Regions from separate parts of the Homo sapiens genome. Here regions 2, 3, 4 and 5 are each linked to region 1. Evidence: promoter capture Hi-C in human tissues and cell types (Jung and others, 2019). All regions are on one chromosome and are shown on one strand. Each heading gives the region's core, a stretch centred on a gene start or on the middle of the fragment in contact. The rest is flanking DNA. Distances are from core to core; before and after follow the strand shown.

What was found. Contacts are between HindIII fragments. The study calls those that stand out against the background at their distance.
Region 2: a fragment that was not itself captured here is called in contact with the fragment with the promoter of LSS in region 1 in 2 of the 25 tissues and cell types used here (dorsolateral prefrontal cortex and spleen).
Region 3: a fragment that was not itself captured here is called in contact with the fragment with the promoter of LSS in region 1 in 1 of the 25 tissues and cell types used here (dorsolateral prefrontal cortex).
Region 4: a fragment that was not itself captured here is called in contact with the fragment with the promoter of LSS in region 1 in 1 of the 25 tissues and cell types used here (lymphoblastoid cells).
Region 5: a contact is called between a fragment that was not itself captured here and the fragment with the promoter of LSS in region 1, in 2 of the 25 tissues and cell types used here (IMR-90 fibroblasts and lymphoblastoid cells).

The regions. Positions count from the first base shown.
Region 1 is chr21:46,226,123-46,231,099 of GRCh38, forward strand. It overlaps LSS (lanosterol synthase), which reads right to left and starts at 2,652. Exons shown (of 22, transcript NM_002340.6): 1 at 2,610-2,652; 2 at 2,312-2,477; 3 at 1,430-1,568. The coding sequence starts at 2,623. It overlaps MCM3AP-AS1 (MCM3AP antisense RNA 1), which reads left to right and starts at 3,109. Exons shown (of 4, transcript NR_110565.1): 1 at 3,109-3,144; 2 at 4,205-4,405. RefSeq lists enhancers at 1,907-1,976, 2,693-2,987 and silencers at 2,407-2,456, 2,517-2,686, 2,697-2,956, 3,017-3,456. The HindIII fragment of the contact is 14,795 bases long and covers 1-4,977 here.
Region 2 is chr21:46,590,815-46,595,791 of GRCh38, forward strand. No RefSeq gene overlaps it. Among named protein-coding and RNA genes, the nearest start is that of S100B, 12 kb to the right of the region's middle. The HindIII fragment of the contact is 3,264 bases long and covers 637-3,900 here.
Region 3 is chr21:46,571,888-46,576,864 of GRCh38, forward strand. It overlaps a transcript of DIP2A not described here. Among named protein-coding and RNA genes, the nearest start is that of S100B, 31 kb to the right of the region's middle. The HindIII fragment of the contact is 3,898 bases long and covers 900-4,797 here.
Region 4 is chr21:46,517,047-46,522,023 of GRCh38, forward strand. All of the region lies in intron 8 of DIP2A (disco interacting protein 2 homolog A), which reads left to right. Among named protein-coding and RNA genes, the nearest start is that of DIP2A-IT1, 57 kb to the left of the region's middle. The HindIII fragment of the contact is 7,528 bases long and covers 1-4,977 here.
Region 5 is chr21:46,499,711-46,504,687 of GRCh38, forward strand. DIP2A (disco interacting protein 2 homolog A) reads left to right here. Exons shown (of 38, transcript NM_015151.4): 6 at 4,651-4,779. Among named protein-coding and RNA genes, the nearest start is that of DIP2A-IT1, 40 kb to the left of the region's middle. RefSeq lists an enhancer at 722-861. The HindIII fragment of the contact is 5,234 bases long and covers 1-4,580 here.

The sequences.
Region 1 (4,977 bases), core at 1,402-3,901:
CGAACGCTGTCTCAAAAAAAAAAAAAAAATACAAAAAAACTCCAACTCACAGCCAGCCCACAGGAAGGGTCCCAGCCAGCTAAGCCCAGAGCCAAAGCAGCAAGAACAAACAACACAGTAATCCCCACTGACCAAGCACCACTGCATGCCTGACACTGTGCACATGACCAAACCTGATTCCAATCCTGTCACAGGTCAGGCTACAGAGGCAAAGTGGGGCTGACCCATCTCCTGACCAACTCTATGTCATTGCCTTACCACGAGCCCTGAGAACAGTCTAAACAGGCCCTGATGGGGCCAAGGGAAGAAGAGCACCTTGACTTCCCCTAAGGACAGGCCCTCAAATCCCAGGACAGAAAAACTCAATGCTGTACAGTCCAGGTGGCAGCAGGGCTAGAAGTCAAAGCAGAGATGGGGATCCCAGTGCTCCTCCTGCTAGTCTGGTTACCTGGAATAAATGTGCCTCAGCTTTCTAATGTATCTCATTAGGCTTATTCTAAGGACTAAAAGAAGAACAGGCCTTGAGCAGGGCTTGGCCTACAGTAAACACCATGGAACTGTTTTTAACGTTAAAGGCCAACTCTTCCCAAACTAACATATAAGCCTATTGCAACTTCATTTCAAGTCTGGGACAAAATCAGGATAAAGGCAATTTGGATGAGTAAATGAATAGACACAGGTAAGAGATGTTTTAAAAAGAAAGGCAACAAAGGTATATAAGGACTTTCTATCTATTACAAAGTCAGCGTAGTAAAAGAAAATGATGTATCAGTAAGAGTTATCACAGAAACAAAACCTATTTATGTAGGAATTCACGTCATTGAAACAATGTGATTACAAGTCACTAGGGAAAAAAGTCCTATTGCATAAATTCATAGGAGGGAATTTCCCATTTTACAAGGCTGAGGATTTCTGTAGAGAAACACTCCCAGGATGCAAAATAGTCTTGTGTAGCCAAATCAGTTCAATACCCAGGCAGTCCAACTGCTATGCTCCTCCTACTCACCAGCCTGAACCTGAAGCTCTCCTGCAATAGCCCCGAGGAAGTTCACAGCAGATATCAGCTCCCCACCCACCACTCTGCCCACCTACAGCCCCTTGGCATAGGCTGGGCCTTCCACCTGGAATGTCCATCCCATCCTGTACTGAGACTTCAAAGCCCACCTTCCTCCTCCCTCAAGGCAACACAGAGCCCTAGAGAACCACTTGCTTCTCTTATCAGAGAGCCTGTCACCCTACACTGGCAAGGCTAGCTGATCCCCTAGACCAATAGCAGGACGACTCTGACATAGGGCAGAGTTTGCCAGCCCTTTTCTTGTGAGCCCCTGGATTTTCACCTGCTTCATCAAAACCCTAGACCAGGCTGGGCCAGGATCCCAAGGGTGATCCAGGGTGGCCATACCATCAGGCTGGGGCAGCATACTCCTACCTGGCAGGAGGAAAAGTGGGCCACCATAATCACCCGTCCAGTGCCCATCCTCAGCCTGCAGCCCCACGTAAAATGTCATCCCGTTCAGAGCCCCCTCAAAGGCGGTGTGGGCTTTGGGCAAGTCCTTAAAGTAATTCTTCTGCAAAGAGATCGAAAAAAAAAAAAAGAGATAGCTGACGGGACTGTTGCCCGGCCAGAGGAACCCTCTTCACATACAGCCCAAGTCAAAACAGTGAATGTAAATTACTTTAAAAGTTTCAGCTGTTTCCATCAAAAGTCTGAAACTCTTTGATGAGAGCATCACACCTCAGCAAAGTAAAAGAACAGCTGCACATTTTCGTTGCTTTATTTGCCAGTCATGTATTCTTCACAACTTCTCCAAGATGTCTGGAATAAACCAGGCACCCAGACTGTAGGGTGGGGCACGGGTGCCGACCTGGGCCTGGGACTCGGGCCTCTCAAAGAGGGCCCAAGGGGCGGCACAGCCTTTCCCTCGGTGGCCGGGGCTCGGCAGGAGACCCTGTTTACACTGCAGACTCTGACGACCAAAATCTCTTACAATGCACACAACTAAGACAGTGGATCCAAACACTTTTTGTGAATAAAAACAAAGTTACAACTATCTTTGCAACTCTCCTATAAGTCAAAAATTATCTCAAAATAAGGTGCTAAAAAATAAAACATTAGGAGTCTCCTATGCGTGGTTTAGAGATGAAGGGGCTGAAGCGGAGGGGCCCGCGAACGCAGTTCCCGTGGGCGCTCGCCTTGGGGATGGGCGTCGCTGGCCGGGTCCTCCCACCCGCCTTTCTGAGAGAAAACGTGCTCCTCACGGCTCACCCCTCAGGGTCCCGAGCTCGCTGACGCTCCGCGGAAGCAACTTACGGTGTCCAGCCCCAGGGCGTAGGCTTCCAGGCCGGTCTGCTCGCGGCCGGCGCGCTCGTCCTGCAGGTAGGTCCACGTCTGCCGGCCCCTCTCGCAGTTGAGTCGCCAGCGGCCGAGGTCGGTGGCGGGCTCGGTCTTGTAGGGGCCCCCTCGGCGCCGCAGACACCTGAGGACCACCGGCCATCAGCGACCCAGGCCCCGCCCCAACGCCGGCCGCCGGCCCACTGCCCCAGTCGCGCTCTCCTCAGCACCTAGGACCACCCCGCATTCGTCAGGAGCCCGGGGCGAGGGGACTCACGTGCCCTCCGTCATTGCTGCTGCAGTGCTCTACGCCGCCCACTGCCAGCTGCCAGATGTCCGCACCCGGGACCTGCCGCCCAGCCCCGCCCCTCCCGCCCCTCCCGCCCCTCCCGCCCCTCCCGCGCGCACTACGCAGGCGCAGGCCTCGGCAGGCGCTCAGGCTTAGGTGGGCCGACGCCCACGCAACCAATCAGAGCGCCGCGAGCGTGACCCCGGGGTGTGCCAGGCGACCACAGTGGTGGAGCGCTTGGTGCCCCATGCGGCGTGGGGCGGGGCCTGAGGGAGCGGGGATGGTGGGTGAAGGCGACGGGACGGGGGAGGCGGGTGGGGCCTTATTGGCGGGGCATGAGGGGCGGGGCTGGTGGGTGGGGAGGTGGGGGCGGGGCTGGTGGGTGGGGAGGTGGGGGCGGGGCCTGGTGGGTGCGGGTGGGGGCGGGGCTGGTGGGTGGGGCCGAAGGGCGGGGGCGGGGCCTCTCGCGCGCCCTCTAGAGGCTTGCGTCCCGGGAGCCCGGCCTCGTGCGCCGCGCTTTGAGGTGAGCCTCTCTGAGAAATTTGTGAGGAGGGTCCAGCCGCGGGTCGGAAGGAAGGACGTGGGGAGCGAGGCTCGAGCGAGCGACAGCGAGTGCGAAGGTCGGGTGGCAGGGAATTGCTCTCGCGCTGCAGGATTTGCCCGGACGCCGGGGCCGGGGGTGGGGGCGGGAGGCCGCCCTGAGGTGAGGTGGGCGCGGGCCGTCGGCTCCAGTGCGAGACCAGGGGGAGGGCGGGGCGGAGCGGAGGAGCCGAGGGCGCCGCCGGCGTCCCTGGGAAGCTGAGCGCCGCGTAGCTTCGCCGGGGGGAGTGGGGTAGGCGCGGTGAGGCCGTGGGCCCCCACACCTGGCGGACCACAGGGGCCAGAAGCCCTGGAGCCCCGCCAGGGAAGGGCTGCGTCGCTGGCCAGGACCGAGCGCGGTAGAGCCTCAGCTGCTCACGGGGTCGCTGGAGTTGGGGGTGGCCCCAGGAGAAATTAAAGGTGAAAAGCCTTAGCAGCAGAGGGAAGAGGAAGATGGAGGCAGAGCGAGTGACCGAACTTGGAAGGGACAGCCGGGCGCAACAGGGCAGGGGGCGTCTGACTGTTGGAAACATGGCTGACGTCTGGAGGCTGCAGCCAGTGGTCCGTAAGTCAGGTCAAGGACCCACAGAAGACCCCAGCATGTCTTCACCTGGCCCACAGAAGCCCTGACATCCAGTTACAACTGCCCCAGCCTAGTGAGCATTTCGGCACCCACTCCTCAATTCCTACCCCCAGCCTAACTTCGAAGGGGCGGTGAGCCACAGCAAGCCGGAGGAGAAAGTTGGAAGAGAGAGTGGACAAAAGAATACCCACAGGCACCTTCCCCACAGTGGAATAGCGGGGTTTTAGACAATCAAGGATAATCACCTCTTCCTATCCCAGTTCAGAAACGGATGAAAAAGACACAGCAATAAGATGGGTGGGTATCAAAATATCAGCTTTGCCACAAATTAAAAACCTAGCTTGAAGGACAAGGCTTAAATCTGCAAGCAAGAGGGCAAGCTACTAAATCACCCGTTAAGTCAGACAAACATATCCCCCAGCCTCTAGGCCATGAAACTGCCTCACCAAGCACTATGCAATTGAGTGCCCACCAGAAGACACCCCTCCAGTCAACCCACAGACCCCAGAAAGAGTACCCAGAGGAGCCTGAGCACACTCCACCCTATCTGTTCTCTGAAATTCAATCAAATGAGTCACTCTACTTCTCTGGAAGCAGAAAGAGGCTGGAAGTTTTTCTCCAGGTAAGTTCCTCCATGTAGAAACATGAAGAATAGGGATAAGGGGCTTCAGCCTGGATGGAATCTCACACTGAACCTGGCAAAGCTAGGTGAGGGAAGAGGTTTCAACTGGATAAGAGTTTGAGTTTTGATATCTTAATGGACTGGACTTTTTATGAGTAAAATAATCCGCTCTTTTTAATGTCTGAAAGAAAAGAAAAAGCTGTAAACTACGTCTGAGAATTGACACAGTTAAGCTTCTAGGGGCAGTCATGAGAAAAAACACTGTTCCTATCTGCTTACATACTACTGCATCCAGCTTATTCATTAAGCCAGATACAGAAGGCTCTGAGGATTTTGGCCTCAACAACTGGGTATATGGTGGTGGTCATTTACTAAAATAGAGGTGTCTTTTATTTATTTAGTGACAGGATCTCAGTCTGTCACCCAGGTGGGAATGCAGTGGCACAATCATTAGCTCACTGCAGCCTCAAATTCCAGGGCTAAGTGATCTTCCGGGCTCAGCCTCCTGAATAGCTGGGACTACAGGCGTGTGCCACCACACCTGGCTGATTTTTTTAAAGTTTGGTAGAGAC
Region 2 (4,977 bases), core at 1,019-3,518, 360 kb after region 1:
TATGGAAAACAATGTGGAGATTCCTTAAAGAACTAAAAGTAGAACTACCAGCAATTGATCCAGCAATCCCACTACTGGATATCTACCCAGAGGAAAAGAAGTGATTTTATGAAAAAGATACTTGCACATGCATGTTTATAGCAGCACAATTCGCAACTGAAAAAAATGTTGAAGCAACCCAAATGCCCATCAAACAACGAGTGGATAAAGAAATCGTGATGTATATATATATGAATACTGTATAGCCACAAAAAAGGAGTGAATTAATGGCATTCGCAGCAACCTGGATGAGATTGTAGACTATTATTCTAAGTGAAGTAACCCAGGTATGGAAAGCCAAACATTGCATGTTCTCACTCATAATTGGGAGCTAAGCTATGAGGACGCAAAGGCATAAGAATAATATAATGGACTTTGGAGACTGATAGAATTTGGCTGTGTCCCCACCCAAATCTCATCTTGAATTCCCATATGTTGTGGGAAGGACCCAGCAGGAGGTAACTGAATCACGGGGCAGGTCTTTCCTGTACTGTTCTCATGATAGTATATCTCATGAGATTTGATGGTTATTATATGGGGGAAGTTTTCCTGCACAAGCTTTCATTCTCTGTTTGCCTGCTGCCATCCACATAAGATGTGACTTGCTCTTCCTTGCCTTCCACCATGATTGTGAAGCTTCCCCAGCCATGTAAAACTGAGTTCTCCATTAAACCTCTTCCCTTTGTAAAGCCTTTCCTTTGCCCAGTCTTTCCTTTGCCCAGTCTTGGGTATGTCTTTATCAGCAATGTAAAAATTGACTAATACAGTAGATTGGTATTCAGTAGAGTGGGGTGCAACTTAAAAGATACCCAAAAATGTGGAAGCAACTTTGGAACTGAGTAACAGGCTGAGGTTGGAACAGTTTGGAGGGCTCAGAAGAGACAGAAAATTGTGGGAAAGTTTGGAACTTCCTGGAGATTTGTTGAATGGCTTTGACCAAAAGCCTGATAGCGATATGAACAATAAGGTCCAGGCTGAGGTGGTCTCAGATGGAGATGAGGAACTTGTTGGGAACTGGAACAAAGGTGACTCTTACGTTTTAGCAAAGAGACTGGTGGCATTTTTCCCCTGTTGTAGAGATATCTGGAACTTGGAGCTTGAGAGAGATGATTCAGGGTATCTTGCAGAAGAAATTTCTAAGCAGCAAAGCATTCAAGATGTGACTTGGGTGCTGTTAACGGCACTCAGTTTGATAAGGGAAACAGAGCATAAAAGTTCAAAAAATTTGCAGCCTGACAATGTGGTAGAAAAGAAAAACCCACTTTCTGAGGAGAAATTGAAGCCGGCTGCATAAATTTGCATAAATAACAAGGAGCTGAATATTAATCCTCTAGACAGTGGGGAAAATGTCTCCAGGGCATGTTAGAGGTCTTCACAGCAGCCCCTCCTATCACAGTCCTGGAAGCCTGGGAGAAAACAGTTTCATGGGCCAGGCCCAGGGTCCCTGTGTTGTGTGCAGTCTAGGGGCTTGGTTCTCTGCATCCCAGCCACTCCAGCTGTGACTGGAAGGAGCCAAGGTGCAGCTTGGGCTGTTACCCAAGGGTGGCGGCCCCAAGCCTTGGCAGCTTCCACGTGGTGTTGAGCCTGTAGGTGCACAGAAGTCAAGAATTAAAGTTTGGAAACCTCCACCTAGATTCCAGAAGATGTATGGAAATGCCTGGATGCCCAAGCAAAAGTCTGCTGCAGGGGTGGGGCCCTCACGGAGAATCTCTGCTGGGGCAGTGCAGAAGGGAAATGTGGGGTTGGAGCCCCCACACAGAGTTCCTCCTGGGGCACTGCCTAGTGGAGCAGTGAGAAGAGGGTCACAATCCTCCAGACTCCAGAATGGTAGATCCACAGACAGCTTGCACTGTGGGCCTGGAAAAGCTGCCGACACTCAATGCCATCCCATGAAAGCAGCCAGGAGGGAGGCTGTACCCTGCAAAGCCACAGGGGCTGAGCTGCCCAAGACCATGGGAATCCACCTCTTGCCTCAGTGTGATCTGGATGTGAGACATGGAGTCAAAGGAGATCATTTTGGAGCTTTAAGATTTGACTGCCCCACTGGATTTCAGATTTGCATGGGGTCTGTAGCCCCAGCATTTTGGCCAATGTCTCCTATTTAGAATGGCTGTATTTATCCAATGCCTGTAGCCCTACTCTATCTACGAAGTAACTAACTTGCTTTTGATTTTGCAGGCTTATAGGCAGAAGGGACTTGCCTTGTCTCAGATGAGACTTTGGACTGTGGGCTTTTGAGTTAATGCTGAAGTAAGACTTTGGGGGACTGTTGGGAAGGCATGATTGGTTTTGAAATGTGAGGACATGAGATTTGGGAGGGGCCAGGGGTGGAATGATATGGTCTGCCTGTGTCCCCACCCAAATCTCATCTTGTATTCCCATGTGTTGTGGGAGGGACTTGGTGGGCAGTAACTGCATCATGGGGGCAGGTCTTTCCTGTGTTGTTCTCATAATAGTAAGTCTCACAAAATCTGATGGTTAGTATAAGGGAGAGTTTTCCTGCACAAGCTCTCACTCTGTCGTTGCCTGCTGCCATCCACATAAGATGTGACTTGCTCCTTCTTGCCTTCTGCCATGATTGTGAGGCTTCCCCAGCCACGTGGAACTGTGAATTCTCCATTAAACCTCTTTCCTTTGTATGTTGCCCAGTCTCAGGTATGTCTTTATCAGAAGTGTGAAAATGGACTAATACAAGGACTTGGGGAAAGGGTGGGAAGGGAGTGAGGGATAAAATACTATAAATAGGGTGCAGTGTATATTGCTCGGGTGATGGGTACACCAAAATCTCGCAAATCACCACCAAAGAACTTATTAGTGTAACCAAACACCACCTGTTTCCCAATAACCTATGCAAATAAAATAAAATTTAAAAATTGCTACAGAAAAGGAAAAAAAAACCTGAATGCCAAGCTCCAAATCTCAGATAAATCCATGGACCGGATTGAGAACCTCTCTTCCCATTTGATGTGCTTTCCTCTGATTGACCCCCACCCTTCACCTATTTTACATATACCTACCCTTCCCTAATTGTTTTTTTTTACATTTTTACATTGTTGTTTCCATCTTTGAGTGGTGCCTTTGTTTTAGCCTTTTTTGCATACTCACAAACCAATCACCACACACTCCCCCATTCTGAGCCCATAAAAGCCCCAGACTTGGCCAGGTGCGGTGGCTCATGCCTGTAATCCCAGCACTTTGGGAGGCCGAGGTGGGCAGATCACAAGGTCAGGAGATTGAGACCATCCTGGCTAACACGGTGAAACCCCGTCTCTACTAAAAATACAAAAATTAGCCAGGCGTGGCAGCATGCGCCTGTAGTCCCAGCTGCTGGGGAGGCTGAGGCAGGAGAATAACATGAACCCGCGAGGCGGAGCTTGCAGTGAGCTGAGATCGCACCACTGCACTCCAGCCTGGGCGACAGAGCGAGACTCCATCCAAAAAAAAAAAAAGGCCCCGGACTCAGCCACACTTGCAGGGACTGCCCACCTTCAGGCACAGGGAGGACTACCTGATTTTGGGTAAGGGTAGTGCACCCAACTCGTGTCCCCCTCTCTGCTGAGAGCTGTTTTGTCACTCGATAAAATTCTCCGCCCTGCTCACTCTTTGGTTGTCTGCATAACCTCATTCTTCTTGGACGCGGGACAAGAACCTGGGACCCGCTGAACAGCAGGTGCAAAAAGGAGCTGTAACACTGTAGCCCTCCTTTACTCCCCTGATGCCAGCTGGCCCATGCAATGGGAGTGTTGGTGGGGCCAGGCCAGCCTGGGAGCCATGGGCCAGAGTGGGGTGATGGGAATAACTGAACAGAGGTCCTGCTGGCTAAAGAAGCTTCCAGCTGGCAAAGCAGCAACAACAACAAAAATCCTGCATCAACCTCGGTAAACACAGAAAAAGCTTTTGAAAAAAATCCAAAACCCTAAGAATATAAGGGAAATTTACCTGATAAAGGGCAACTACAAAAACCCACAGTTAACATACTCAATGGATACTTAATGGATCCTTCCTCACAACTGAGATCAGGAACACCCAGGGGCTGGGGATTTCACAAGATGTGAAGACCAGTAGGAAAGGGTGGGGTGCACTTTAGTGCACTATCTGCACACCACCCAACACTCCTACTTTCTTGAATGAGGAGACTGCAGTCCAGAGGGGCCTGGCTACTGTAAGCCTGGGCAAAGGCAGTGATGTCCCTGCTCAGGAATCCTTGGGTATTAGAGAAGCTGAGGCCTTTTCCACTCTCTGCCTTGCACAGTCAACTCTTGAGTGAGGGGGCTGGTACACCCAGAGGATGGTCACAATTCCTCTAGAGGTATAATCTAGGCAGACAGTGCTGTCTTGCTGATCTGGTGTTATTAACTTCCCTGAGGAAAAAAATCACCTGAATTCTTGTTTGATCAGTCTCACAGCTAAAAACCCCAGGGAGTCATGGTCCCACTTCAGACCTGGGGGGCCTGGTACTTGGGATATGTAGCAAGATCCCAGCAGAGTTTTGTGCAGTGAGCTGTAGGGGGCCATGGGACCCAATATGCCCTCTGCAGTGTCCCCCACCCCCTCACAGAAGAGGAAAAGTTCAGGAGTGGCCTCCTGAACACCTGAGACGCACCTCAGGGATCTGTATTTTAAATTAGGGGTGCTGGGGTAAGAAGACATAAGAAAAGCTCCTTCTAGCCCAGCCAAGTCTGGCCTCCTTCCTGCAAGGTTTAGATCCTGGGGGCTTTGGGCTATTTTCCTGAGAAGAATGCCAACCTCATCCTCAGCTCTCTGCTCAACATCCAGCCCTGTGTAAAAGCTCTAGGCTTGCCTCATGCTAACTTGCTTGAATAATGTGTATTTTCTGCACTCCTTCAGAGAGAGGCCAGCCCTTTTCTCCCTAAATGCAGTGAAAGGAGGTTGTGCCATTGTCTTGCCTGCCAGGTTGCTGGTGGACATGGCTGTAAG
Region 3 (4,977 bases), core at 1,599-4,098, 350 kb after region 1:
TCTTTCTTTCTCTTGCCTGTTTGCCCTGACCAGAACTTCCAATACTATGTTGAGTAGGAGTGGTGAGAAAGAGCATCCTTGTCTTGTGCCGGTTTTCAAAGGGAATCCTTCCTAGTTTTTGCCCATTCAGTATGATACTGGCTGTGGGTTTGTCATAAATAGCTCTTATTATTTTGAGATATGGTCCACCAATACCTAGTTTATTGACAGGTTTTAGCTTTTAATAATAAAGTTTATAATGTAAAAAATAAAAAATTTTTAGAGAAAAAAGTTTATAAAGATGTCTAAAAATGTTTTGCACAGTTGTACAATGTGTTTTAAGCTAAATGTTTTTACAAAATAGCCAAAAACTTAAAAACATTTGAAAGTTTATAAAGTTACAGTAAGCTAAGGTTAATTTATTATTGAAGAAAAATTATGTTTAGTGTAGTCTAAGTGTACAATGTTTATAAAGTCTATAGTAGTGTACAGTAATGTCCTAGGCCTTCACATTCATTCACCACTTACACCCAAAATAACTTTGAGTTCTACCAGCTCCATTAATGGTAAGTACTTACTATGATTTGAGTGACCCCCAATGTGGCAGTATTAAGAGGTGGGGCCCTTAAGAGGTGATTGGATTAATCTATTCAAGGATTGATAGATTAATGGATTATCATGGGAATGGGGCTGATGGCTTTGTAAGAAGATGAAGACCTGAGCTAGCATGCTCAGCGCCCCCACCATATGATGCCCTGCACTACCTTGGGAGTCTGCAGAGAGTCCCTACCAGCAAGAAGACCCTGACCTGATGTGGCCCTCAACCTTGGACTTCTCAGCTGCTATAATTCTAAGAAATAAATTCATGTTTTTCTTATAATGTAGCCAATTTCAGGTGTTCTGTTATAAGCAACATACAATGGACTGAGTGCCCTGTACAAGTGTACTGATTTTAATCCTTTATACTGTATTTTTACTACCTTTTCTAAATTTGGACATGTGTTTAGATATACAAATACCAGTGCATTACAATTGCCTACAGTATTTTGTACAGTTACATGGTGGACAGGTTTGTAACCCAGGAGCAATAGGCTATATCATATAGCCTAGGTGTGTTGTAGGCTAGGTTTGTGTAGATACATATACACTGTATGTTGTTCCCCCAATGATGAAATCACCTAAAAACACATTTCTCAGAACATATTTCTGTTGTTAAGTAATGCATGGCTGTATGCACAAAAGGAAGTGAGAAAGGGATTTAAATGTTTCATTAAAAAAAAACACAGAAGGGCGCAATACAAGAAATGAAAGAGATATAAGGCATATAGAATATGAAGTGACAGAAGTAAGTCTCTCCTTATTGATAATTACTTTATCTGTAAATAGATTAAATGGACAGAGATTGGCAGAATGGGGAAAAAACAGGATCTAACTGTATGCTGTCTACAAGAGACTCACATCCAAAGACACAGTATTAATATATTGAGAGTGACAGGATGGAAAAATATATTCACTGGGCACAGTGGCTCATGTCTGTAATCCCAGCGCTTTGGGAGGCTGAGGCAGGTGGTTTTCTTGAGCCCAGGAATTTGAGACCAGCCTAGGCAACATGAAGAGACCACATCTCTACCAAAAAAATACAAAAATTAGCTGGGCATTGTGGCTTTCTCAGGAGGCTGAGGTGGGAATATTCCTTGAGCCTGATGGGTGGAGATTGCAGTGCACCAAGATCACAACACTGTACTCCAGCCTGGGAGACAGAGTAAGACCCTCTCTCACAAAAAAAAAAAAAAAAAAAAAAAAAAAAAAAAAAAAAAGATATTCCATGCAAATAGTAATCAACAGGGAGCAGAGGTAGCTATAATAATATAGTTTAAATAAAAAATGATTACAAGAAATGATGGACATTAATAAAAGATTCAATTCAGCAAGATGTAACAATTGTAAACATTTACACATACAATGACAGATCATCAAAATATATGAAATGAAAACTGACAATAGAAGGGAGAAAGGAGAAATAGACAGTTCTATAATAATAGTTGGAAATGTCAGTGCCCTGCTTTGAATAATGGATGGAACAATAAGACATAAGTAAGGAAATGGAGGCTTTAAACAGCACAACAAACTAACTAGATCTAACAGACATATGCAGAACATTCTACCCAACAATAAAAATAGAATACACATTCTTCTCAAGTTCACATGGAACATTTTCCAGGATAGACAACATGTTAGGCCACAAATTAAGTCTCAATAGATTTAAAAATATACAAAGTCTCTCCTTAAACCAAACTGGGATAAAGTTAAAAATCTATAGCAGAAGGAAAACTGAGAAAATACAGAAATTAGTGAAAATTAACACACTTTCAAACAACCAATGGATCAAAGAAGAAATAACAAGAAAAATTAGAAAATACTTGGAAATAAAAACAATGTACCAAAACTTATGGGACCCAGCAAAAGCAGTGCTAAAGAAGCAATTTATAGCTATAAATGCTTACATTAAAAACCAAGAAGGACCTCAAATTAACAAACTAACATTACAACTTAAGAAACTAAAAAAGAAGAACAAACTAAACCCAAAGTTAGCAGAAGTAAGGATTAGTGCAGAAATAGATGAGAGACAATAGAAAAACAGAGAAAATCAAGAAAGCCAAAAATGGTTTCTTTGAAAAGATCAACAAAATTGACATTTTAGCTAGATGGACCAAGAAAAAAAGAAGACAGATTACTAAAATCAGAAATAAAATTGGAAACGTTACCAATTCTACAGTAATAAAAAGCATTAAAAAATACTATGCACAATTGTATGCCAACAAATGGAAAAACCTAGAATAGACAAGTTCCTAAAAACACAAAACATATCAAGACTAATCATGAAGAAATAGAAAATCTGAGTAGACTTATAACTAGTAAGGAGATTGATTTAAGTAATAAAAGATCTATTGACAAAAACCTGATGGCTTCATTGGTGAATTCTACCAAACATTTAAATAACTAACACTAATCCTTTTTAAACTTTTTCAGAAAGTTGAGGGAAAACTTTCAAACTTACTCTATGAGGCAAGCATTATCCTGATACTGGAACCAGTCAGACACTACAAAAACAGAAAACTACAGACCATGATTCCTTCTGAACATTGATGTAAAAATCCTCAATAAAATACTAGCAAACTGACTTCAGCAGCATATTAAAAACACTATATAGCATTACAAAGTGGGGTTTACTCCTGGAATGTAAGGATGATTCAATATATAAAACAATCAATGTAATAAACCATATTAATGGAATGAAGGGGAAAAACCACATGTGATCGTCTCGATTGATGCAGCAAAGGCATTTGGCAAAATTCAGTACCCTATAATGATTAAAGAAAAAAACAACTAGGAATAAAAGGAAACTACTTCAACATAATGAAGTCCATATATGAAAATCCACAACAAACATCATACTCAGTAGTGAAAATCTGCAGAAGCTTTTTCTGATAAGATCAGAAACACAGCAAGGATGACTGCGTTTGTCACTTCCACTCAACACAGAACTGGAAGCTCTTAGAGCAATTAGGCAAGAAAAAAAGGATTCTAAATTGGAAAGAAACAATTCAAATTATCTCTGCCAATGATATAATCTCATATGTAGAAAGGCCTAAAGATTCCACAAAAAAAAGTAGCACTAATAAATTTAGCAACATAGCAGGATACAAGGTCAACACACAAAAATAGTTGCATTTTCATACACTCACAATGAACAATTCGAAAAGGAAATCAGGAAAACAATTCCATTGACAATAGCATCAAAAAATATTTAGGAATTAACCAAGGAGATGAAAGACTTATAAAATGAAAAGTACAAAACATTGAATGGAAAACATCGAACAATACAAAGAAATAAGTGGAAAGACATCTTATGTTCATGGATTGGAAGTCTTAATATTGTTAAGATGTCAGTACTACTCAAAGCCATCTACAGATTCAAGGCAGTCCCTATCCAAATTCTAATTATGGTTTTTGCAGAAAGACTAACTCATTCTAAAATTGATATAGAATCTAAAGACACTCTGAATAAACAAAGCAATTTTGAAAAAGAAAAAGCTGTAAGACAGTTCTCCAAATAAGATATACAAAAGGTATACACCTTTGAAAAATGAAAGCAAAATAAGGACATTCTTAGATAAGCAAATTTTGTTGTTGGCTGACATCACCATAAATACTAAAGAAAGTCCATCAGACTGAAAGCAAGTGACCCCCGATGGCAATTTTTAAAAATTTTTAAGTTCTAGGGTACATGTGCAGGATGTGCAGATTTGTTTCATAGGCAAACATGTGCCATGGTGATTTGCTGCACCTATCAACCAATCACCTAAGTCCAGCATGCATTAGCTATTTTTCCTGATGCTCTCCCTCCCCCAGTGTCCCCCCAACAGGCCCCAGTGTGTGTTGTTCCCCTCTGTGTGTCTATGTGTTCATAATGTTCAGCTCCCACTTATAAGTGAGAACATGTGGTGTTTGGTTTTCTGTTCCTGCGTTAGTTTGCTGGGGATAATGGCTTCCAGCTCCATCCATCTCCCTGCAGAGAACACAATCTAATTCCTTTTTATGATTGAATAGTATTCCATGGTGTAAATGTACCACATTTTCTTTATCTAGCCTACCATTGACAGCCATTTGGGTTGATTCCATGCCTTTGCTATTGTGAATAGTGCTGCAATGAACATACATGTGCATATATTTTTGTAATAGAATAATTTATATTCCGCTGGGTATATACCCAGTAACGGGATTGCTGGGTCAAATGGTATTTCTGGGTCTAGGTCTTTGAGAAATTGCCACACTGTCTTCCACAATGATTGGACTAATTTGCATTCCCATCAACACTGTAAATGCATTCCTATTTCTTTGCAGCCTCACCAGCATCTGTTGTTTTTTGACGTTTTAATAGTTGCCATTCTGACTGGTGTGAGACAGTAGTATCTCATTTGTGGTTTTGACTTGCAT
Region 4 (4,977 bases), core at 957-3,456, 290 kb after region 1:
TCTCTCTCTTTTTTTTTTTTTTTTTTTTTTTTTTTGAGACAGAGTCTTGCTCTGTTGCCCACACTGGAGTGCAGTGGTGATCACAACTCACTGCAGCCTTGACTTCTTGGGCTCAAGAGGTCCTCCCACCACAGCCTCCTGAGTAGCTGGGACTACAGGTGCACAGCACTACGCCCAGCTAATTTTTTCTTTCTTTCTTATTTTCTTTTTTTTATAGAGATGGGGTTTCACTGTGTTGTCCAGGCTGGTCTTGAACTCCTGGGCTCAAGTGACCTGCCTGCCTCAGCCTCCCAAAGTGCTGGATTACAGGCGTGAGCCACCATGCCTGGCCTTTTTGATTGAATATTGTATGTTGTGTATAAAAACATTATGGCAGGTCCAGACAATGCCATCTTCCTTAAGAGAAACCTCTTTCCCCTCCAAGTAGAGTAGTGGCTGGCTGGTCGCTGCAGTCCAGTCATGCCTGGCCCAGCCGGCCTTTGCTCTCCTCTGGCTCTCCTGGGCTTTCTGCCAGTGCCTGGTGTGTCCATGTGTCTCTTTCCTCTGATGGCTTCCCAGCCGTGGCGTTGGTCTCCTCGTGGCTTCTTAACAACCCCATTCTGCTTTTCAGAGGTTTTCCACATGGGCTCTTGGTCTCCTGCTGCACACAGCCAGAGGATTCAGCACATGTCCTGCAGGAGGTGGCTGTGCTCTCGAGACTCCTAGCCTCTACCAAAAGCTCTGCAGGTTTCTTCATGTCCTGGTGGGACTGCTCCAGGTGGATACTCAGCCCCCCGTGGGGGCTGGAATCCCTGAACATGGACAGCGTAAAGACAGCTGCAGCTCAGCTCACTTTCCGGAGGGTTTTCCCTCTCTGGAATCTTAACTCCTCTAGTTGTCTTTGCTGAGCAGCAACTTGCTGCCTCCAAAAGATCATTTCTGCATTTTATTCAGTTTTTAAACTCATCTTAGGCAGGAGTGCTGGTCTGCCACCAGTACCCTCTCCTACTCGGAAGCAGAGTCTTCCACCATTGTGCTTTTAAAATTCATCCATGTTATTGCGGGTAGTTGTAATTCATTTATTTCTGTTGAGGAATGAATATATCAGAATTTACTTAAGCATTATGCTGTTGCTGGAATACATGGGCTGTATCCAGTTTTAGCTACTAGAAACAGTGCTCCCAGGAAGATTCTGGTGTGTGCCACGTGGTAGCTAAGCATATGTTTCTGAAGGTTGAGTACTTAGGAGTGGAAGTACTAGGTCTAGGGTTATGGGCACCTTCACATTGCTGAGATGGCATCACCGTTCTCCAGTTCACCCTTGGCCCATCAGTGTGGGTGGGCCCTACCTGCTCCCCATCATTATCAGCACTTGGTATTGTCAGGCTTATGAATTTTAGCTACTCTCGTGAGAATATGGTGGTATTTCATTGTGGTTTTAATGTGCATTTTACTGATAACTAAATAGATTGAGATCTTTCCTGTCATTTTAACTTGCTCTTTTGTTAAGTACCCCTTGAATCTTTTACACATTTTTTCTGTAGTGAACGGCTGGGCACGGTGGCTTACATCTATACTCCCAGCACTTTGGGAGGCTGAGATGGGTGAATCACTTGAGGCTAGGAGTTTGAGACCAGCCTGGCCAACATGGCAAAAGCCTGTCTCTACTAAAAATACAAAAATCAGCCGGGTGTGGTGGCATGCGCCTATAGTCCCAGCTACTCGGGAGGCTGAGGCATGAGAATTGCTTGAACCCAGGAGGTGGAGGTTACAGTGAGCCAAGATTGCACCGCTGCACTGCAGCCTAAGTGACAGAGCGAGACCCTGTCTCAAGAAGTATATGTAAATAAAATGAAAACAAGTTTATTAAGAAAGCAAAGGAATAAAAGAATGGCTACTCCATAGGCAGACCAGCAGCTTGGGCTGCTGGACTAAGAATACTTAGAGTTATTTCTTGACTATATGCTAAACAAGGGGTGGATTATTCATAAATTTTCTGGGAAAGGGGTGGGCAGTTTCTGGAACTGAGGGTTCCTCCCATTTTAGACCATCTAGGATAACTTCCTGACGTTGCCATGGCTGCTGTAAACTGTCATGGCACTGGTGGGAGTGTCTTTTAGCATGCCAATCATTGTAAGTAGTATATAATGAGCAGTGAGTTCAACCAGAGGTCACTTACATTGCCATCTTCATTTGCGGGGACTTGGCCAGCTTCTTCACCACACATGCTGTTTTATCAGTAAGGTCTTTATGACCTGTATCTTGTGCCGACCTCCTATCTCATCCTGTGACTTAGAATGCCTAACTTCTGGGGGTGCAGCCCAGCAGATCTCAGCCTTATTTTACCTAGCCCCTATTCAAGATGGAGTTGCTCTGGTTTAAACGCCTCTGACATATTTCCCCTCTCTGTTTTATGAGAGAAGCCTTAATTCTAAAGGTTGTAGAGGGACAAAGATTCATCTTCTATAACTTCTTCAGGCTGAACAGGAGTGATGACATTCCTGCCTAACTATTAGGGTCTTTTATATTTGAGAAAGAAAGGAGCTAAGTCAGAAAGCATCAGTATGGTGAGGGCCATTCATAACGCCAAGAAAATTTGGTATCTGGAAGATTAATAAGTGTTCAGTTTAAGAAAACATTGAGTAAGCTTATCCTGCATTCCTACACAGAGTACAACAGCAATATATTCCACAACAGTAAAACAAAATAAGTAAAATTATCCCAAGTAAATTAAATAGGGATTTTCATGAACTGGGTAACTGTTGGAACTAAGATGATATGGGATTGCTAGCTGATTCCAGTGTGCCCAGAATTAGAATATTGATCTAGATTTTTTTTTTTTTTTTTTTTTTTTTTTTTTTTTTTTTGAGATGGAGTCTTGCTCTGCTGCTCAGGCTGGAGTGCAGTGGTGCGATCTCGGCTCACTGCAAGCTCCGCCTCCAGGGTTCACGCCATTCTCCTGCCTCAGCCTCCCAAGTAGCTGGGACTACAGGCACCCGCCACCACGCCCGGCTAATGTTTTGTATTTTTAGTAGAGACGGGGTTTCACCATGTTAGCCAGGACGGTCTCGATCTCCTGACCTTGTGATACACCCATCTCGGCCTCCTCAAGTGCTGGGATTACAGGCATGAGCCACCGCACCCAGCCTGATCCAGATTTTTACATTACCCATCTCTCTTGTTTCTCTCTACTTTACTCAATTGTTAAAAGCTGTAAATAGCTCAAAAGAGAAGTTTTCTTGGCTCTGAAAAACAAAACAAAGAATCAGCAACAATTTAAGCAAAAAGTCAAAACAAGTTACTTCTGTTTTCTACTGGTTCTATTAGTCCTATTAGTTCAGCTCATGTCAAAACAAGTTACTTCTGTCTTCTATTAGTTCTGTTAGTCCTATTAGTTCAGCTCATGCAGTTAACTCCTGTTCGATATTCATGAACATTTTGGCTCTCCATGAGAGTCCTGAAAGTTTTTCCTCTATTCTAATGTCGCAACCTCCAAAGTTATCAGAAACCTGCATTCAAAAACACCTGTTAGAGTTCTCTAGTTGATTATAAAACCACCTTCTAAAGAGGACCCAAACAAGACAACAATTTTGTATGGATGACAGAATGCCTTAGGGCAGCCTCTACAAAAGCCACAATTGACTAGGAATTTTGATTACTTCTGTGACATGGAACAATTTAACATACCAATTATATTAATAACATGTACTGTCATATCAGAGTTATAGAAGTTTCACACGATTTTGGAACACAAACCAATAACATATTTATACAAATATAGCCCAAAGAAAGCCACGCATCATTTCATATCTGACAGTGCTTGCTGTGTGATTTTTATACCAAATAAGCTGAATATGTCATTTTTTGGACTTGAGAGGACCTAATATCTAAAAGATTAATTAGGTCAGGAAAAGGCAGAATTTAGAGTATGATGTTGGAAAGTTTGTCAAATATTAAAGGTTTAAACGCTTGATATTACAAAATAGAATCCCAGGTCACCATAAGTCATTCATTTACCCAAAATGATAACTCAAAAATTTTTAAAAGGCAAAATCCTTTACTCATTAATAGAAGGAAGACTTAGCTTTCCAAATAATCTGTCTCCTTTCTTTCCCTTCTTTTTCCTATAGTTTATTCAAAAGGCAAACAAAAATCTTTGTTTTCTTTTCTTTTTTTTTCCTGAGACGGAGTCTCACTCTGTCACCCAGGTTGAAGTGCAGTGGCGTGATCTCGGCTCACTGCAACCTCCGCCTCCTGGGTTCAAGCAATTCTTCTGCCCCAGCCTCCTGAGTAGCTGGGACTACAGGTGTGCACCACCATGCCTGGCTAATTTTTGTATTTTTAGTAGAGACCGGTTTTCACCATGTTGGCCAGGCTTATCTCAAACTCCTGACCTCAAGTGATCTGCCTGCCCTGGCCTCCCAAATTGCTGGGATTACAGGCATGAGCCATTACACCCAGCCATCTTTCATTATTTTTTTAATATAAAAATCCTGCTCAAGGGAGAAAGCAAAATTTCACCATTGCATTAGCGCATTATTGATGTCAAACCCAATTCTTAATAAAACCTTGTAGACAAATCTATTCAACCATAAGGTAAGATTCTCATAAACCTTTTATAACCCTTTACACTTTTTGTTAAAGAGCAGATTCATGCTCCAAGAAAACTGTTGTGCTTTTATTCCAGTATTCAATTTATGGAAAAACTGAATAATACCCCTTTAACTTTAGGCCAGTGTGTTCACACACAATTTCTTTTACAAGATTAATTTTTCACAAACCTTCCACAACTTGCTCAAACCTTCAGCATTATTCTATCCAACTGAAAATAATCCTTTAACCCTTTAATCTAGGCAAAAAAAAATCCACATTCCCATGACTTCTTACAATCTTTTTACCAAAAACACATTTCACTTTCCGTGCACATTTCACACTTGCAGGTAGAACTGCTTTTCCCATAGTCCCATAGTCTCAAGTGCATGTTACATTGTTAACCGA
Region 5 (4,977 bases), core at 714-3,213, 270 kb after region 1:
GTAGCTGGCATGTGAAACCCACATACACTCTTGCACAAGTACCTTAAAATACAATCAGTATTGTTGAAGACTCATCTTAATCCCCTCCTTTTTTTCCCAGATGAGGAAGGAAGAAAAAAAAGTCCAGCGATTGTAACTTGCTTGAGATCAGACAGCAGCCTTAAGTGGTGAAGCCAGGGCTGATACCAGTTTTCTTGATTCCTATTCATTTTCTTTGCTTTTTGTTGCTTTTCTGCCAAAACTGAAAGGTGACACCTGTGACACGCTGGTGTTTGTGCTGGGGTCCCCATGGGTGCCGAGCTCTTTTTTGTAAGACCTCGGTCATTTGGCTGGACTGGGGGCAAGTTGGGTATGTTGGGTGGCCCACAGCTTCTGTCTCATCATCCTCTGTAGTGTGCATCACTGTTGCTCTTCATGTTTTTGTTTGTTTGAGTCAGCACATCTCTTGTGTTTCCATTGAACATGTGTCCTTCTTCTGAGGCGTCCGTCTCAGATGAAAGCTCACAGTGCCCTGCTCTGTCTCCACACTGCTTCCAGCTCATAAAGGAACTGCCAAGACTACAAGGGTAGCAGCAGGCAGCATTTTCCACAGAGAAAGTTTCTCTTAGGAAAACAGCCTGCTCAGATTGTTTCTGTAGCTTTCCTGGGTGTTCCATGGCCAGAGGCTGCTGCCCACCTTTCCTCAAGGTGGTGTACAGTCCATATCTTGAAAACAGCTTTTGCACTGTTGTTTGCCTTCTCTGTTCATCGTTGGTGATTTAACTTTGTAGAAATACATAGTTAACTCCAATTCTGAGGCAGGGGCAGGAAAACAGTAGTTTTAAATGTTCTGTTACCTCATTTCTTCTCCCAGAAGCTCCTTTCTAGGTGAGATGGTGCAGGAGAGCAAACAAAACATTTGTAGTTTGAGTTTATTAGCCATTGCTGAGTCATCTCAACACTGTTTCCGGGTGGGTTAGAAATAAAAGCTTATTCAGCATGAAAAATTAGCCACAGTTCAGAATGTTTAACCGTACAGCCCTCAACTTTCCAGTGATTGTGGGGTGTCTTTAAGCAAAGCATTGAACTCTAATGTGTGTTTGAATTAGATGTTTTCATTCTCTGAAAAGGACTTGGCTGCAATTATTTATAATGTAGGTTTATTACCTATGTTGGTGGAAGACAGCTCCTGACTCCTGCAGATGCAGCTGTAATCATCTCTTCCTTTCTTGTTAGTCCTAGCATCAACATTTTGTGATCAATTCTAATACATTTAAAAAAAATTCTTAACTTGGACTTGATTTAATACTTTGCTTACAGGATTGCAATTTTCTACAGATTGTAGCTACCCACATCCTAAATGTTGGACATAGTTAATTTGAATTTCTAAATCTCAAAAATACTCAACTTCCCTCTTATGACAGAAATCATCCTTTGTTTTAGTTTCTAACACTAGATGTGTCTTCAATTTAAACTAAGGAAAGAAACATGAAAAGAGGAAGAATATATTAAGTAAAAAATTCGAGGTAGAACATATCAGGTAAAGATAATTTTTAAAAATATATCACTTTCAGTTTTGGATTAAGGAAATCAAATACATTAAGCCTTTTTTATACAAATGTAAATACCTATTTTTAAAAGCAGTACTTTTAATTATAGTAGCTTCTTTTAATTATAGTAGCTTATTTTTATTTTGAATGTAGTTTATGTTTATTTTTATGCAGCTTTTTTTTTTATTTTTCCACCTAGAGACAGGGTCTTGCTCTGTCACCCACGCTGGAGTACAGTGGCATGATCATAGGTCACTGCAGCCTTGAACTCCTGGGCTTAAGAAATTCTCCCACCTTAGCCTCCTGAGCAGCTGGGACTATAGGCAAATGCCAGCATGCCTAGCTAATTTTTAAAAATTTTTTGGAAAGATGGAGTTTTTACTGTGTTGCCCAGACTGGGCTTGAACTCCTGGGCTCAAGTGATCCTCATGCCTTGGCCTTTCAAAATGTTAGGATTATAGGAATGAGCCACTGCTCCCAGCCATTATATAGCTGTTTTAAAAAACTACTTGTAGTACATGTATGTATACCATGTATACCTTTTTTTCCATATATACTTTTAAAATCATTTATTCTTTTTGCTAGATTTGGAAGAGTGGGGAAATTTCTTTTTAAACTAAAAGAACCTCCTGATAGACATACTTTAAAATGCTAATTTGATCAGCATCAGGCTTTTTCAAGGGTTGTGAAAAATCTTAACGGTTTAGATTTTTTCAAAAGGTATATTCTGCTATGCAGACAGTGAGTTTGTGCTTTCATATACTTCAGCTTTCTACAAACCTAGTAAAAAGTTACTGCTTTACATTGTACCTAGGAGTACCACAGTGATACTAACAGGTACCTTCATTAAAATATTAAACATTACCAGTTGTCTCTACCTAACATAGACTAGTGTTTATTTATTTATTTTTTTGGAGATAAGATCTCACTCTGTGGCCCGGGCTAGAGTGCAGCGGTATGGTCCTAGCTCACTGTAACCTGGAACTTCTGGGCTCCAGTGGTCCTTTCACCTCAGCCTCCTAAGTAGCTGGGACCACAGGTGTCCACCACCATGCCCAGCTAATTTTTTTTTTTAAGAGATGGGAGCTCACTATGTTGCCCAGGCTGATCTCAAATTCCTGGGCTCAAGTGATCCTCCTGCCTCAGCCTCCCAAAGTGCTGGGATTATAAGTGTGAGCCACTGCACAGCTAGTGTTGATTTTTTTTTTTTTTTTTTTTTTTTTTTTGTGACAGGGTCTCACTCTGTCCCCCAGGCTGGAGTGCAGTGGTGCAATCTTGGCTCACTGCAACCTCCACCTCCCGGGTTCAAGCGATTCTCCTGCCTCAGCCTCCCGAGTAGCTGGGATTACAGGCATGCACCACCACGCCTGGATAATTTTTGTATTTTTAGTAGAGACAGGGTTTCACCGTGTTGGCCAGGCCATTCTCGAACTCCTGACCTCAGCTGATCTGCCCGCCTTGACCTTCCAAATTGCTGGGATTACAGGTGTGAGCTACCATGTTGGCCCCTATGTTGATTCTTATAAATGGGCGAGCATCTGTGTATTCATTGTTGTGGTAGAACACAATTTCTATAGTCATATAGACACAGTGCCTTTCCTAGTGGTAGACCCAATTATAACCATAATTCCTATAGGAACTTACAGTCAGCCAGCATTCTGAACAGATAGATGGACTGTACCATGGAAATAAAACACAAAAATGTACATTCAGACAATGGAAGGAGTGACTTTTACATATGTTCCAGATCTAATGTCTGTTTTTAAATGTTACACCAATTCTACTTTAAGAACTTGATTGTGGCCAGGCGCGGTGGATCACACCTGTAATCCCAGCACTTCAGGAGGCCGAGGTGGTTGGATCACTTGAGTCCAGGAGTTCAAGACCAGCTTGGCCAATATGGTGAAAACCCGTCTCTACTAAAAATACAAAAATTGGCTGGGTGTGGTGGCACATGCCTGTAATCCCAGCTACTTGGGGGACTGAGACAGGAGAATTGCTTGAACTCAGGAGGCAGAGGTTGCAGTGAGCCAAGATTGTGCCACTGCACTCCAGTCTGGGCAGTGATAAAGTGAGACTCCATCTCAAAAAAAAAAAAAAAAAAGGAACTTGATTGTGGTCTCTTAGTTTTGCAGCTGTTTTAACTGGCAGTGGGGGAAGTTTTAATTTCTGTAGTTTTATTCTTTTAGGACTGCAAAGGTTTGGTGTCCAACATACTTTTTTGGGGGTTGTAGTAGTTTGTATGATCCTGGCTGTTTTTTTCATAATGTAACAAAAAAATGTACCAGTGACAATTGATTTCAAATTTGTTTCTGCTTCCTTGAGGGAATTTCTTCCTTCCTTCCTTCCTTCCTTCCTTCCTTCCTTCCTTCCTTTCTTTCTTTCTTTCTTTCTTTCCTTTCTTTCTTTCTTTTTCTTTCTTTCTTTTTCTTTCTTTCTTTCTTTTCTTTCTTTCTTCTTTCTCTTTCCTTCCTTCCTTCCTTCTTTCTTTCTTTTTTCTTTTTGAGAGAGAGTGTCGCTCTGTTGCCCAAGTTAGAGTGCAGTGGTGCAATCTCAGCTCACTGCAACCTCCGCCTCCTGGGTTCAAGTGATTCTCCTGCCTCAGCCTCCCCAGTAGCTGGGATTACAGGCATGTGCCACGACGCCCGGCTGATTTTTGTATTTTTAGTAGAGACGGGGTTTCGCCATGTTGGCCAGGCTGGTCTCGAACCCCTGACCTCAGGTGATCTGCCTATGTCAGCCTCCCCAAGTGCAGGGATTACAGGTGTCAGCCACCATGCCCAGCCCCTTGAGGGAATTTCTAACCAAAATCTCATCAGGCCATTGTGACAGGCAGGTTTACTCTGTGCCTGCCTCTGTGCTGAAGATGGTGGTTCTGAGTCTGGATCCCTTTGAGAATTGAGCCACCCACATGCACGCAGATGTCTGCATAACGTGTCTGGGAGTTCATAGGGTCCCAGTATGCCTTTGGTCAGCCAAGAAAACAAATTAATGAAAATACCACACTCTCCCCACTTAGAACTCAGCTAGTGGAGCTTTAGACTAACGGGGTTTCAAGAGCAGCTTAATACTCATTTGACTTAACAGCCACTTTCATTTTGGGTGTGTTTTTCAAAAGCAGATCTGCATTCTGCCCCTCCTGATGTCACCACGGGCCTCGTGGAGCATTCGTACTTTGAGCGTCCACAGGTGGCTTCTGTGAGAAGTGTTCCTCGGGGGTGCAGCGGGAGCATGCTGGAAACAGCAGATGGTGAGCCTGCCTCTCTTTCTCCTCGTGAAATAGCAGAACACAGGTTTTGTCTTTGGGTATTGAACACAGCTTTAATGTATTCACTGTAGCAAACCCAAGCCAAACGTCAGTTTTAATCCATGCAGATAAATAGAAACCAGTGTGTGCAGTTAATGTTATAGAAAGCATCATGTGGAGAAATAATTGGAAATATCAATG